Regions from separate parts of the Homo sapiens genome. Here region 2 is linked to region 1. Evidence: promoter capture Hi-C in human tissues and cell types (Jung and others, 2019). All regions are on one chromosome and are shown on one strand. The core of a region is centred on a gene start or on the middle of the fragment in contact, and the rest is flanking DNA. Distances in the headings are between cores, read along the strand shown. Region 1 holds the start of TBC1D21 (TBC1 domain family member 21). Region 2 overlaps CD276 (CD276 molecule).

Region 1 (5,376 bases), core at 2,177-4,676:
AGAGCTGGAGTTTGAACCCTAAGCTGTTTGATGCAACAGTCAGAGGCTTAACCCTAATGCCATGCTGGGGGTGGGAGGGGCAGTGGGAAGGAATTAAAAGGCAAGGATTTTCCACTCAAATAAAAAATATGTATCTTACACAAGCTGTGAACAAAAGAAATACCTTAAAATCAAATGCCCTACAATGATTAAAAAATAAATGACGAACAAAGATACGAAAAAAAGTCAAACACAATGGAGAGGTAATATTGAAATTAAAGTAATATGCACCGCACACCGTAACAAAAGATACAGCATCAACGCAATAAGGCAGAAATAATTAGAAACATCACAAGAAGACATCTGTTGAGTATTCAGAGAATTTGCATTTCTAAACCTCTACCTGTAACAATTGGCCATCTGCCTACTTTGCCGTGGTTGAATTTGTTTATAAAAAGTCACTGCTTCGGCCGGGCGCGGTGGCTCACGCCTGTAATCCCAGCACTTTGGGAGGCCGAGGCGGGTGGATCACGAGGTCAAGAGATCGAGACCATCCTGACCAACATGGTGAAACCCCTTCTCTACTAAAAAAAATACAAAAAAAAAAAAACAAAAATTACCCGGGTGTTGTAGTGGGCACCTGTGGTCCCAGCTACTTGGGAGGCTGAGGCAGGAGAATGACGTGAACCCAGGAGGCGGAGCTTGCAGTGAGCTGAGATCGCACCACTGCACTCCAGCCTGGGTGACAGAGCAAGACTCCGTCTCAAAAAAAAAAAAAAAAAAAAAAAAAAAAAAAAAAAAAAAAAAAAAACCCACAAAAAAAGTCACTGATTCTTCCTTCTAGGAAACTCCATTTCTCTACACCCACCAGTTCCCTGTATCTCTCCAAACTTCAGCAAACTATAGGCCACCCACAAGACTATCTCAGACACTTGCTAGCAAGCCAAGGACCAGAACAAGAAGGCTGTTGACCCGCAGAAGGCAAAGGGGGAAATGTCACTTAGAAGCCCTCTCTCTACATGCACACCACCTACCTGCCTATGCTAGAAATCAGAGAATGTGTATCTGGGCTCCTTTAATGTGACGGAGATTGTCAACACAGTGGCTTCTCAAATCAACCTTCATCTTCCCATATTCCTCTGTTCTTTGCTCAACCAACCTAATAACACCCTTTTCCATACACTGGGTATAATGACCTGGTAATCCGGGAGGGGAAGTCTGCAGTTTGCGAGGGGGCTGGATACCCTCCAGCTCTGCAGTGGTGCCTTTCCTAGTGTCCTGGGAAGCGTACTGCTAGATAGAGCAGCTATGGAAATCTCCCACCTTCAGGGTGTATCTAGGCAGGTTAAAGTTCTACATCAGCAAACCTGAGGAAGCCTTGGCCATTCTTCCCCTGGGGAAGGGGACCAGAAGTGGGAGCCCTAAGTGGCTCAGTCCCTCTAAAAGTTTCCTGCTGCTAGAGGCCTTGGCTTCAGGCATAAATCTCCTCTCCCCACTGCATCATTGGGTTAGGGGTTTTCTCCCATATTTTCAGTAAAAAAAGAAAGCCTTTGGAGGACAAGAAAAACTTTTTATGAGGGTTTTAATGCCAAGTTTCTCTGAATACTCATAGCCACAGAACCTCCAATAAAGCCCAGGGAAGGTCATTGACTTTGCTTAAGCTTCCCTCCCTCCCTCCCTCCCTCCCTTCCTTCCTTCCCTTCTTCCCTCCTTCCCTCCTTCCTTCCTTCTTTCTTCTTCTTCTTCTTCTTTTTTTTTTTTTTTGATGGAGTCTCACTCTGTCGCCCAGGCTGGAGTGCAGTGGCGCAATCTCAGCTCACTGCAACCTCCACCTCCCTGGTTCAAGTGATTCTCCTGCCTCAGTCTCTTAAGTAGCTGGGATTACAGGGACTCACTACCACGCCTGGCTAATTTTTTGTATTTTTTAGTAGAGACAGGGTTTTGCCATATTGGCCAGGCTGGTCTTGAACTCGCGACCTCAGGTGATCTGCCCGCTTCGGCCTCCCAAAGTGCTGGGATTACAGGCGTGAGCCACTGCACCTGGACAGGTTCTCTTTTCTACTCCAGTTCACCTGAGGACAAGATAGACTCCCAACCGTAACAAGGGGTTCCCACTTCAGCAATTATTACCAACCCAGGTGTGGAGGGTGTATCATCAGTACAGCACCGTGATGAAGAAAATGGTTTAAAACAGTGGTTCACAAAGCTAATTGTGCATCACAGTGCCCTGGAGGGATGAGTTACAAAAAACACAGATCTCTGGGCTTCGTCTCCAGTTTATTGGTTCAGAAGATCTGGGGCCCAAGAGTCTGCATTCTTACAAGTTCCCAGTTGGTGCTAATGCTGCAGGTTTGGATGCCACACTTTGAGAATACTGAGTTTTGCACCCCACCTGTCTGGGTCGAAATACAACTTCTGCCACTTAACAAGCTGTGTGACTGTAGGCAAGTGACAAAGTCTCTGTGGCTCCATGTTCTCATTTATAAAAGGAAGACAACAGCATTATTCACTTCATAGAGTTGTGATGAGAATGAATGACTATAAATAAAGCATTTAGAACATTCATCGTACATAATAAATGCTATGTGACAGTTTATTTTATTAGCCTTCTCTAAGCTCAGAGAAATGAGAAAGATATAAAGAAAATTTAAAGCAAGGCCTGGTGATAATTTGCCATAAAGCAGTAACATTTAAAACTCAGGGAGAGGAGTGTCCATTTTGCATTTTTATGTATCACTCTCTTAATCACTATGATTAATGAGACTTAAGATTGGCTAAAGTTATTGTAATTAGTTATGATTTTGAAAAAATACCGTGTGGAAAATTTTTATGACTGAAGCCGACTTCTAACAAATAGCTGTATCTTGTAAACTGGGTTTAGAACTACCTACTAACAAAAGCATTACTGCCACCTGGTGGCAGTATACCAAAATTGTTGGCAAAAAGCACCGATGAAAATCTATCAGCATCTTCAGGTTCGCACCTGCAAACCTACAACTCAATAAAGTTAGAATAGCACATATGTGGAGAAGGTTTTGCTGGCTTGGAAAGAAGGTGAAAGGGGGCTTGGATGTCTCAGTCCTGTCCTTGGGCTGATGGTAAGAGTAAGGTACAACCGCCCTTGCTCCACCTTCTATGTTAGCTCAGGGTTCTAGCTTTTCCTACCCAGCAGGGGAAAATGGTCCCAGTGCCAACCAGAGGCTGGGGAGGGAGGCACTCAGAGCTGACAAAGAACACGCACCAGGATGAAGGAGGCTGACTGTCTGGCAGAGAGGCTGTTTTCAGGAGAGAGGGTGGTCATGGCCCCTGCTGTCTTCCGAACAGCCTCTGATCAGAACTCACTTGGAGCCCTAGTGATGCTTAATCCTTTTCGGAGATGGGTTGCATTCCCAGGAGGAACTGGCTGCTCCTGACCTCCCACACTTGAACAGAGCCGGCCAGCAGTGTGTCACAAGTCCCCTGGAACTCTCATCACAATGACCTGGAACACGGGAACACCCACCTTTAGAGATGAGACACAAGCAGGAGAAGAGGGATTAAACCTGCTAGTTTTGGAAAAAAAAAAAAAAAGGAAAGAAAAGAAAAGAAAGAAAGAAAAACAAAAAACAACAACAAACAGAAAAATGCAAAACTGCAGAACACGCAGTGGAGGTTGGATTCAGAGGACATGGGGATCAGTGTGGGCTGTGCTGGTCAAGGAGGGCTTCCAGGGAGAGGTGGGCCATGAAGCCTTGCTCTCTATCTCTGACTCTTCCTCTGGACTCTCTTAGCTGGACTCCCTCCCTATTCCACCAGACCAGTGCCCAAAGTTGGAGAATAACTAGAAACCAGGCTTCAGATGTCTTGGGTACCAGTTATAAAGATTCAGAATCAGTATGTCAGTGCTGGGGCCTGGGGGGCTGGGGAATGTGTTTTGATATGCCTCCTGGGGTGACTTAGCTTCAGCATTGGAATGGTAGCTTCTGGGGTGGAGATCAGTTTTGTTTAGCTTTTTATTTGGAGCACTTACGATCGTGCCTGAGTAGCTGAGTTAATGATTTAATTGAATGGGAGAATAAATGAAGCTGTCTTAGACCTCATCTCACTTCCCTCTCTGTATGTATGACAGAGATTTGTGCCTGCCCCATATCACCTCCTACCCTGAGTTCCTTTAGGCCAGGGTCAACATCAGATTCCTCTGTGGTTCCCTCTCCCAATGCCAGTTCTGCCATCACTTGGCACTTGGTAGGTGCTCAATATTTGTTGCATGGACCCAAGGAGTTGGCTCTGCTTGGCTCCAGCATCACTCTTCTCCACCTTAAGCATTGCTTGCACTTCTACTCAGGTCCCATCTGGCTCTAAAGCATCCTTAGTCATTAGGAGATGATAGTAATTCGACCAACCAAATTGGAATCAGGAGCTGGGTGTTGGAATTTGGACTCTGACCTCAAATTTGGATGCTCCCCGCTTCTGAGCTACAGATTCCCCAGACATGAAATCAGAATACAGTCAACCTCTGGCTTTCACCTCCTTATTAACATAATGAATCACTGTCCATATGGAGTCTTCCACGGACACAATTCATTGTCTCATTTACTGTTTCTGTTCTGCTTGCCTGCGGCACTGCAGAAGGCCTTTTAAATCAAAATGCCTTATTATCGGCCTCTCTCCTCTACCCACTACCCTAGCTCAACCTAGGAGAGAGTTAAGAGCCTCTTCCCTTTGATCTACTGCCCCTAGGTCTTCATGGAGTGGGAGGTGGGCAACGTTGAGTAGGGAAGGTGTGGAGTAAGGATGGGGCCCCTTGCACATTAGGGTGGCTTCATTCTAAGGTCTGCAAGAAGTTTCCAAAGCAAATGTTTAGAGCAAGAGACATAGACATCATTTAGGATTATCTATGTCTCTGTTCTTCCACATTAACCACGTAGGCAACTGAGGATTCACTGCAATTGTTCCTTGAGAAGATGAGGATCAGGTCGGGAATTGGAAACATCTGAGGGCTCAATTCAACCTGGCTTCTAAAACGAACATGGTGAACATAGATCAACTACTGAACTTCTTTTAACCTCTGGCATCCTATCTGTGAATTGTAGGTGATAACCCTTCCCCAAATGAGCCAATACAGTTTAGTCATATTACAAAAGCCCCATAGCAACCACATGGAGGCTTAATATTCAAACAGAACTGCAGGACTCTGTAACGGAAGCAAAAAGGGCTTTTATTCCATCCCTCTTTCTTCTTTTTTCAGATTCTGAAAGGGAATTACATGTGTCCATTTTTTTCCAGGGCTGAATGATCCTTACCATGTCCATTTATTTACATAATTGCCCAAGTGCCTTGGTTTCCCATATATTGCTTTTCTGTTATGCATTTTCTCATCTCTGATGGGAATCCAGCTTTCTGCTTTAAACTTCTATA
Region 2 (5,434 bases), core at 2,451-4,950, 190 kb after region 1:
GGACGTAGATGGGGACTCGGATTGAATCTGTGCACAGCAGGAAACTGTGGAATACTGTGACCCACGTGTCCAACCCTCTTCTACCCTAGACTGGCCTGAAATATCCCTGACAGCTTCTCAGAGATTCTGTCTCCAAGTTCACCCCACACCAGGACAGGCAATCCCAGGGGCCAGAAGACAAATACAGTTAAAACAGATGAGCACCTCCCCGTATGGCCTAAACTTCAATTCCTTCTTAACATCTTCTGCTCCTTCTTTCCTTGACAAAGAGGCAAATTCAATGCCGAGCAGATCGTCTCCGTCTTTGGTAGCTAGTCTTAACACAGTTATTTTGCTCCATGTCCTTTATTCTACAGTGCCCTTCTCTTGGTCTATGCTGGCCCCTTCTGGTAGCAAGGCTCCGCACTCCTGCAGGGAGCCCAGTCCATGCTGTACTGGTGGAGCTGTCCTCCCAGCCTAGGGCCTGGGCATGTTACAAGACCTGGCTCATGGAGAAACCTGCCCTGCCCCCACTCAGTGATTAGTTCGAGAATGAGCTGTAAGCCAAGCCACACCCAATCAGAGACTTCCCCAGAGCCTTGCTGCTGCAGCCATCAAAAAAGACTCTTTCTTGTTGAGATTACTAAGAAGGATACGGTCTGGGACTGTTAGCAATAAATGTGTCTGCTACCAACAATCTAAAGAATTGATCCAAACAAATGAACAGAGGCAGAGATGGAAGCTAGAAGGATATAGAGCCCTAAAACCATCATTTAAGCCCCTATTCCTGAAGCAAGCTGCACACATAGACTGCCTAGGTACTTAAACAAGTCTTTTTTTTTTTTCTTAAATGTGCTTGAGCTAGTTTTCTATTATCTGTAACTGAAGGACTCCTCAAATATGTCTGCTATATCTTCACTATCTCCATTTCTCTCTACCCCTGCTTCTCTTCCTGGTCTTCCAAGTCACCATCATCTCTTGCCTGGATAACTATAAAAGCCTCTTCACCAGTCTGTTCACCTTCTCTAGTTCCCCCACCCAATTCTGTTCTCCAATCTATACTCTATACAACAGCCAGAATAATTGCTATTAATATAAAAGCATAAATTATATCACTGCCTTCAATAGTTAATCATAGGGCTGTTCACTTTCCTTGTGATAAGATCGCAGCTCCTCCATAGCCTACAGAGCCCCATCTGCCCTGGCCCTGCCCACCTGCCCAGCCTCACCTCTTCCTACTTGCCCCTCACCACAGTGGGCTGCTTCCAGTTCCTACAACATAGGACTCCCTTTCCTACCTCACAGTGTTGCTGCAAATACAGTTTCTTCTTCCTAGATGACATGGGTGCTTTAAGACTCATGTTGAAATTTAATTGCCACTGTAACAGTATTAAGAGGTGGGGCCTGTAAGAAGTGAAGAGATTAATGCTGTTATCACAGGAAAAGTGGGCTCCTGATAAAAGCGTAAGTGCTGCCCCCATACTGTCTGTACTGCACGCTCACATGCCCTTCCACAATAGGATAATGCAGCAAGAAGGCCCTCGCCAGATGCCAGCACCATGCCCTTGGACTTCCCAGTCTCCAGAACTACAAGCCAAATAACCTTTTTTTCTTTATATATTACCCAGGCTGTGGTATTCTGTTATAGCAGTAAAACATGGACTAAGATAAAAGGTAACACCTCCATATTCTGAGGGTCACCTTGACAGAAAAGCCAGGTAAGAGATCTGCCACTCTAAGAAGGACCCTGTCATTCATTGCACCCAGTCTGTTTTCTTCATGATATATGAGAACCTCCCTGAGAAGGAACCACATCTGCTTTATTTAACTATTGCATCCTTAATTCTAGCAATGGCTTGGCACATAATGGGTTCTCAATGCACGATTCAATGAGTGAACGAATGAATGCATGTGTGTTTAGATAGAGAGATGGATAGATATATGGATGGATGGATGTTTGTATATGGGGAAAGGATCTGGATGCCTGAGAGTGAATGCAACTCTGGAGTGTCAGAATAAGGGTGAGAGTTTGCTACTGTTTTCTACTTGATACACTTCTCTGTTTTTAACTATGAACATGTAAATTCTTTTGCAATTAACGAAAAAAGGAAAACAGCAACAACAGAGATATCCTGGACTTTAGACCAGGCTCTGTCACTCACTTGCCAGGCTCCCTAGGCCAAACCCCTTGCCTTTCTGGGTCTTCATCTCCTCAACCATCAAAGGGTCCTGACCACCATCCCATGCTGTGACCATATCGCATGTTGGGCTGGTGTAATCACAAGAAGCTTCATGGAAGAAGTTAGCACTAGTGTTTAAGAAGATGACTTTGGAGTTGGAGAGACAGGTTCAAATCCAGACTCTGTCACTTCCTAGTAATGAAACTTTATGAAAATATCCTCTCTGAGCCTCAGTTTGCTCATTTGTAAAATGGGGATTATAAACCTTACCCTCATAGGATGATTATAGGACTCAATGAGCAAAATTATCAAAACTGACCTAGTTAATACTAGGTGCTCTATAAATGGGCAGCAGCCTCAGAAAAGAGATGGGAGGGTCCCTAGAGTTCCCTGGGAACAGCCTCCCTGTTTGCCTTCCTTTTTCCTGATAATCTGAGTCAGTTTGGGCCTTTTATGTTCAAGGCTGTCCACTGGGCACCACTCCCCAGTCCCGTGATCCCACCCAAGAGCAGGAATCAGTTCTTCCTCTCCAAGCGATTTCTGTGTGAGTCAGGACAGTAGTATGTCATCAGGGCTGGCCAGCAAAGCAGGGCTAAGGTCTCCCTGGAACTAGAGGCATGTGCAGGGGCTGCAAAACTGACCTATACATGCATGTGGAAATGTGTACACACACACACACACACACACACACACACACACACACACAGGAGGCACAGAGCCCTGAAAAAAGTGAAAGCTACATTGGGCCCAGAGGAGGTCCAGCCAAAAGAAGGGATGGCAACAAGGAGAATAGGGAGAGGAAGGAAAGGGATGAGAGCACATGAGACCACATCAGAGCGCAGATTTCGGGTCAGACACTGGCAGGCCCAGGGCACACACATCTGCATTCACTCAATATCTGCTGAGTCCTGCTAGGTGCCCACCTAAACATATCTGGAAATCCTATCCTTTCCAGAAGCCTTTCCAGACTGCACTCAAGGAAGGGTGCATTTTCTCCAGATGTGATCTGCCTAAATGCCTCCTTGCCTCCAAATTCCTTTGGTTTCTACCCTGAAAGAGGCTCAGCTTAGCAGAACAACTCTGCCGACCCCTCTCCATCTAAGCACCAGACCCCTCTCGGAGTGTAGCAATCTCCACCAGTCCTCAGAGCTAGAAGGCCTCTTACGGTACACCTGGTCCAGCGCCTAGCTCCAGGCCCATTGTACAGATGGAAATCTGGACCCAGAGTGGTGGCCGGCTGGCCAAGGGCCCACACTCAATTATCAGCCACCAGCAGAAGTGACTAAGAGCCAGCTGATGCTCCTATCTCTCTTCCTCACTTATTGAATGGAATCACCAGGCTGCCTTGCCTGCCCAGGGTACAGCATGAGCTCAGAAGCCAGCAGCCTTGGGTTTCAATCCTGACACCGATGCCTTGCTGAACACATGACCAAGTTTAAATGACTTAACCTATTTGAGACCCAATTCCAAATCTCTAAAATGGGGGTAACAATCCCTACCCCACAGGGCTGCTGTGAGAATAAAATAAGACAATAGAGAGAGAGGACTTAGGAAAGTGCCCAGTACCAAAACTGCAGTAATAATTATTATTATTGCTGTTATTATTGCCGCAAGCATGGGGACAAGGCCTCCTAGATGGGGCCTCTGCACTGAGCGAACACTTTGCCCCTACCCCACTCTCCCTGGCCAAGACCTCCTCTGTCAGGCCACACATCTGGGCCTCTGGGACCATTACTCCTTCTGTATCCCTACTTTTCACCTAGAGCCCTATCAGTGCCCCAGCTCCAAAGTAGCAAATGCACAACTCGACTCCATCTCTGGCTCTGACTCATTCTAGTGGTCCTGGGCCCCTTCCTCTTCGCAGATGCTTGGTCACAGTTCCAAGTACCATGAGCTCCTACCGTCCTGCTGCCATAGCCCCTAGCACAGAGCATTCCCACAGGGACACATTCCAATGTCTCCCACAAGGCAGCCCCAGTTCCTAGGAGCCTGCATTGCCTCTAGGGTAACTTGGGACCCCTGCCTCCCAGAGACAGTATCTCTCCCTGCTCCAAGGCTCCCAGCAAGAAATGCTTCTCACTCCACTTCCCGCAGATTAAGCTCCCTATGCCTAGAGAAGGTCAGATTCCCAATGGCATAAGGTGTGTGGAGCAGGCATTCATTCTCTGGACCACAAAGAGAAAGAAAGGGAGAAAGGGGGCAGCTGGCTGGGAGCACTGGTCAGAACTGGAGGGTGGAGGGGGAACTCCTGGAAGCCCCAGCATGATAAAGTCCAGGGCTCTGGAAGAGAAGAACTCTCAGCAAAGGCCCTGACTATGCTGTGAAGGCCACTAGTCACTGGGTCACCCAGGTCAGGCCTGCCCCTTCTCTGGTTCCCCAGATGAGTCTTCCCTGACTTACTAAGGAGACCCTTGGCACATCTTACCGGGCTCCAGAAAGAGGGGTAAAACCTGTGCCTACCTCCAGAGCAGCAGAAAAAGCCAGTTCTGGAAGCAGACAACAGCCCAGCTCCACCATTTGCCGGCTGTGTGTCTTTGGGCATGTGACTTACCCTTTCTGGGCCTCAGTTTCCCCAACTGTACAATGGTGTTAATGATACCCTACCTCATAGGATTACTATGAGGATTACATGAGATAATGTCTATTTAGCCTCCAGCACAACCCTACCCACTCCCAAACCTGAAAACCCAATGCTCCTATCTGGCACACTGCAAGGGCGGTAGAACTGGGGGTGGCAGGCAAGGGTTGCATAACTGTACACGTGGCCCCCTTCCAGGTGTGGGGTCCATTCTGAGCCAACAAGACCAAAGGCAATTTCTCAAAAATCATGTGGACCAGTCCTCACCCCTCTCCCCCTCCCCTAGGCCCTGGGTGTGCCCTCCCCCTTTTGCTGGTGGACTTCCCTAACACTCCTGCCCTGGGGATGTGGGAAAAGGACAATGAGAAGTCGCCACCCACTCAGAGGATAAGCTCATGGGCAGTAACGTCATCCTCCTTGCCATTTTTCCTCTTTCCCTGACCCTATGACTCAGATCCACAGCTTAACAGCCCCCATGTGGTCATAATCTCAGAGGCTGCTTGGATTTGGTCATTTTTCTGCACAGACCCCAAACCCCGTATGTGCAACCAAGTACCATCCAGCCACTTGTTCTACAACATTTTCTAGGAGTCTCTTTAGGTGCTGTGGAATTCCAACTCACAGCTCTCTTATCACACTGCATCTCTGACTCCAAACAGCATTGTCCAGCTCCTTGTCAAACTCAAATCCTACTCCA

What was found. The method cuts DNA at HindIII sites, captures the fragments that hold promoters and counts their contacts. A contact is called where the count stands out against the background at its distance.
Region 2: a contact is called between a fragment that was not itself captured here and the fragment with the promoter of TBC1D21 in region 1, in 2 of the 25 tissues and cell types used here (mesenchymal stem cells and mesendoderm cells).

The regions. Positions count from the first base shown.
Region 1 is chr15:73,871,614-73,876,989 of GRCh38, reverse strand. It overlaps TBC1D21 (TBC1 domain family member 21), which reads right to left and starts at 3,426. Exons shown (of 11, transcript NM_153356.3): 1 at 3,221-3,426. The coding sequence starts at 3,280. It overlaps LOC102723657 (a long non-coding RNA gene), which reads left to right and starts at 3,455. Exons shown (of 6, transcript XR_932455.3): 1 at 3,455-3,695; 2 at 4,887-5,047. The HindIII fragment of the contact is 7,159 bases long and covers 1-5,376 here.
Region 2 is chr15:73,686,620-73,692,053 of GRCh38, reverse strand. The region is part of intron 1 of CD276 (CD276 molecule); the gene reads right to left. Among named protein-coding and RNA genes, the nearest start is that of CD276, 5.0 kb to the right of the region's middle. The HindIII fragment of the contact is 5,586 bases long and covers 908-5,434 here.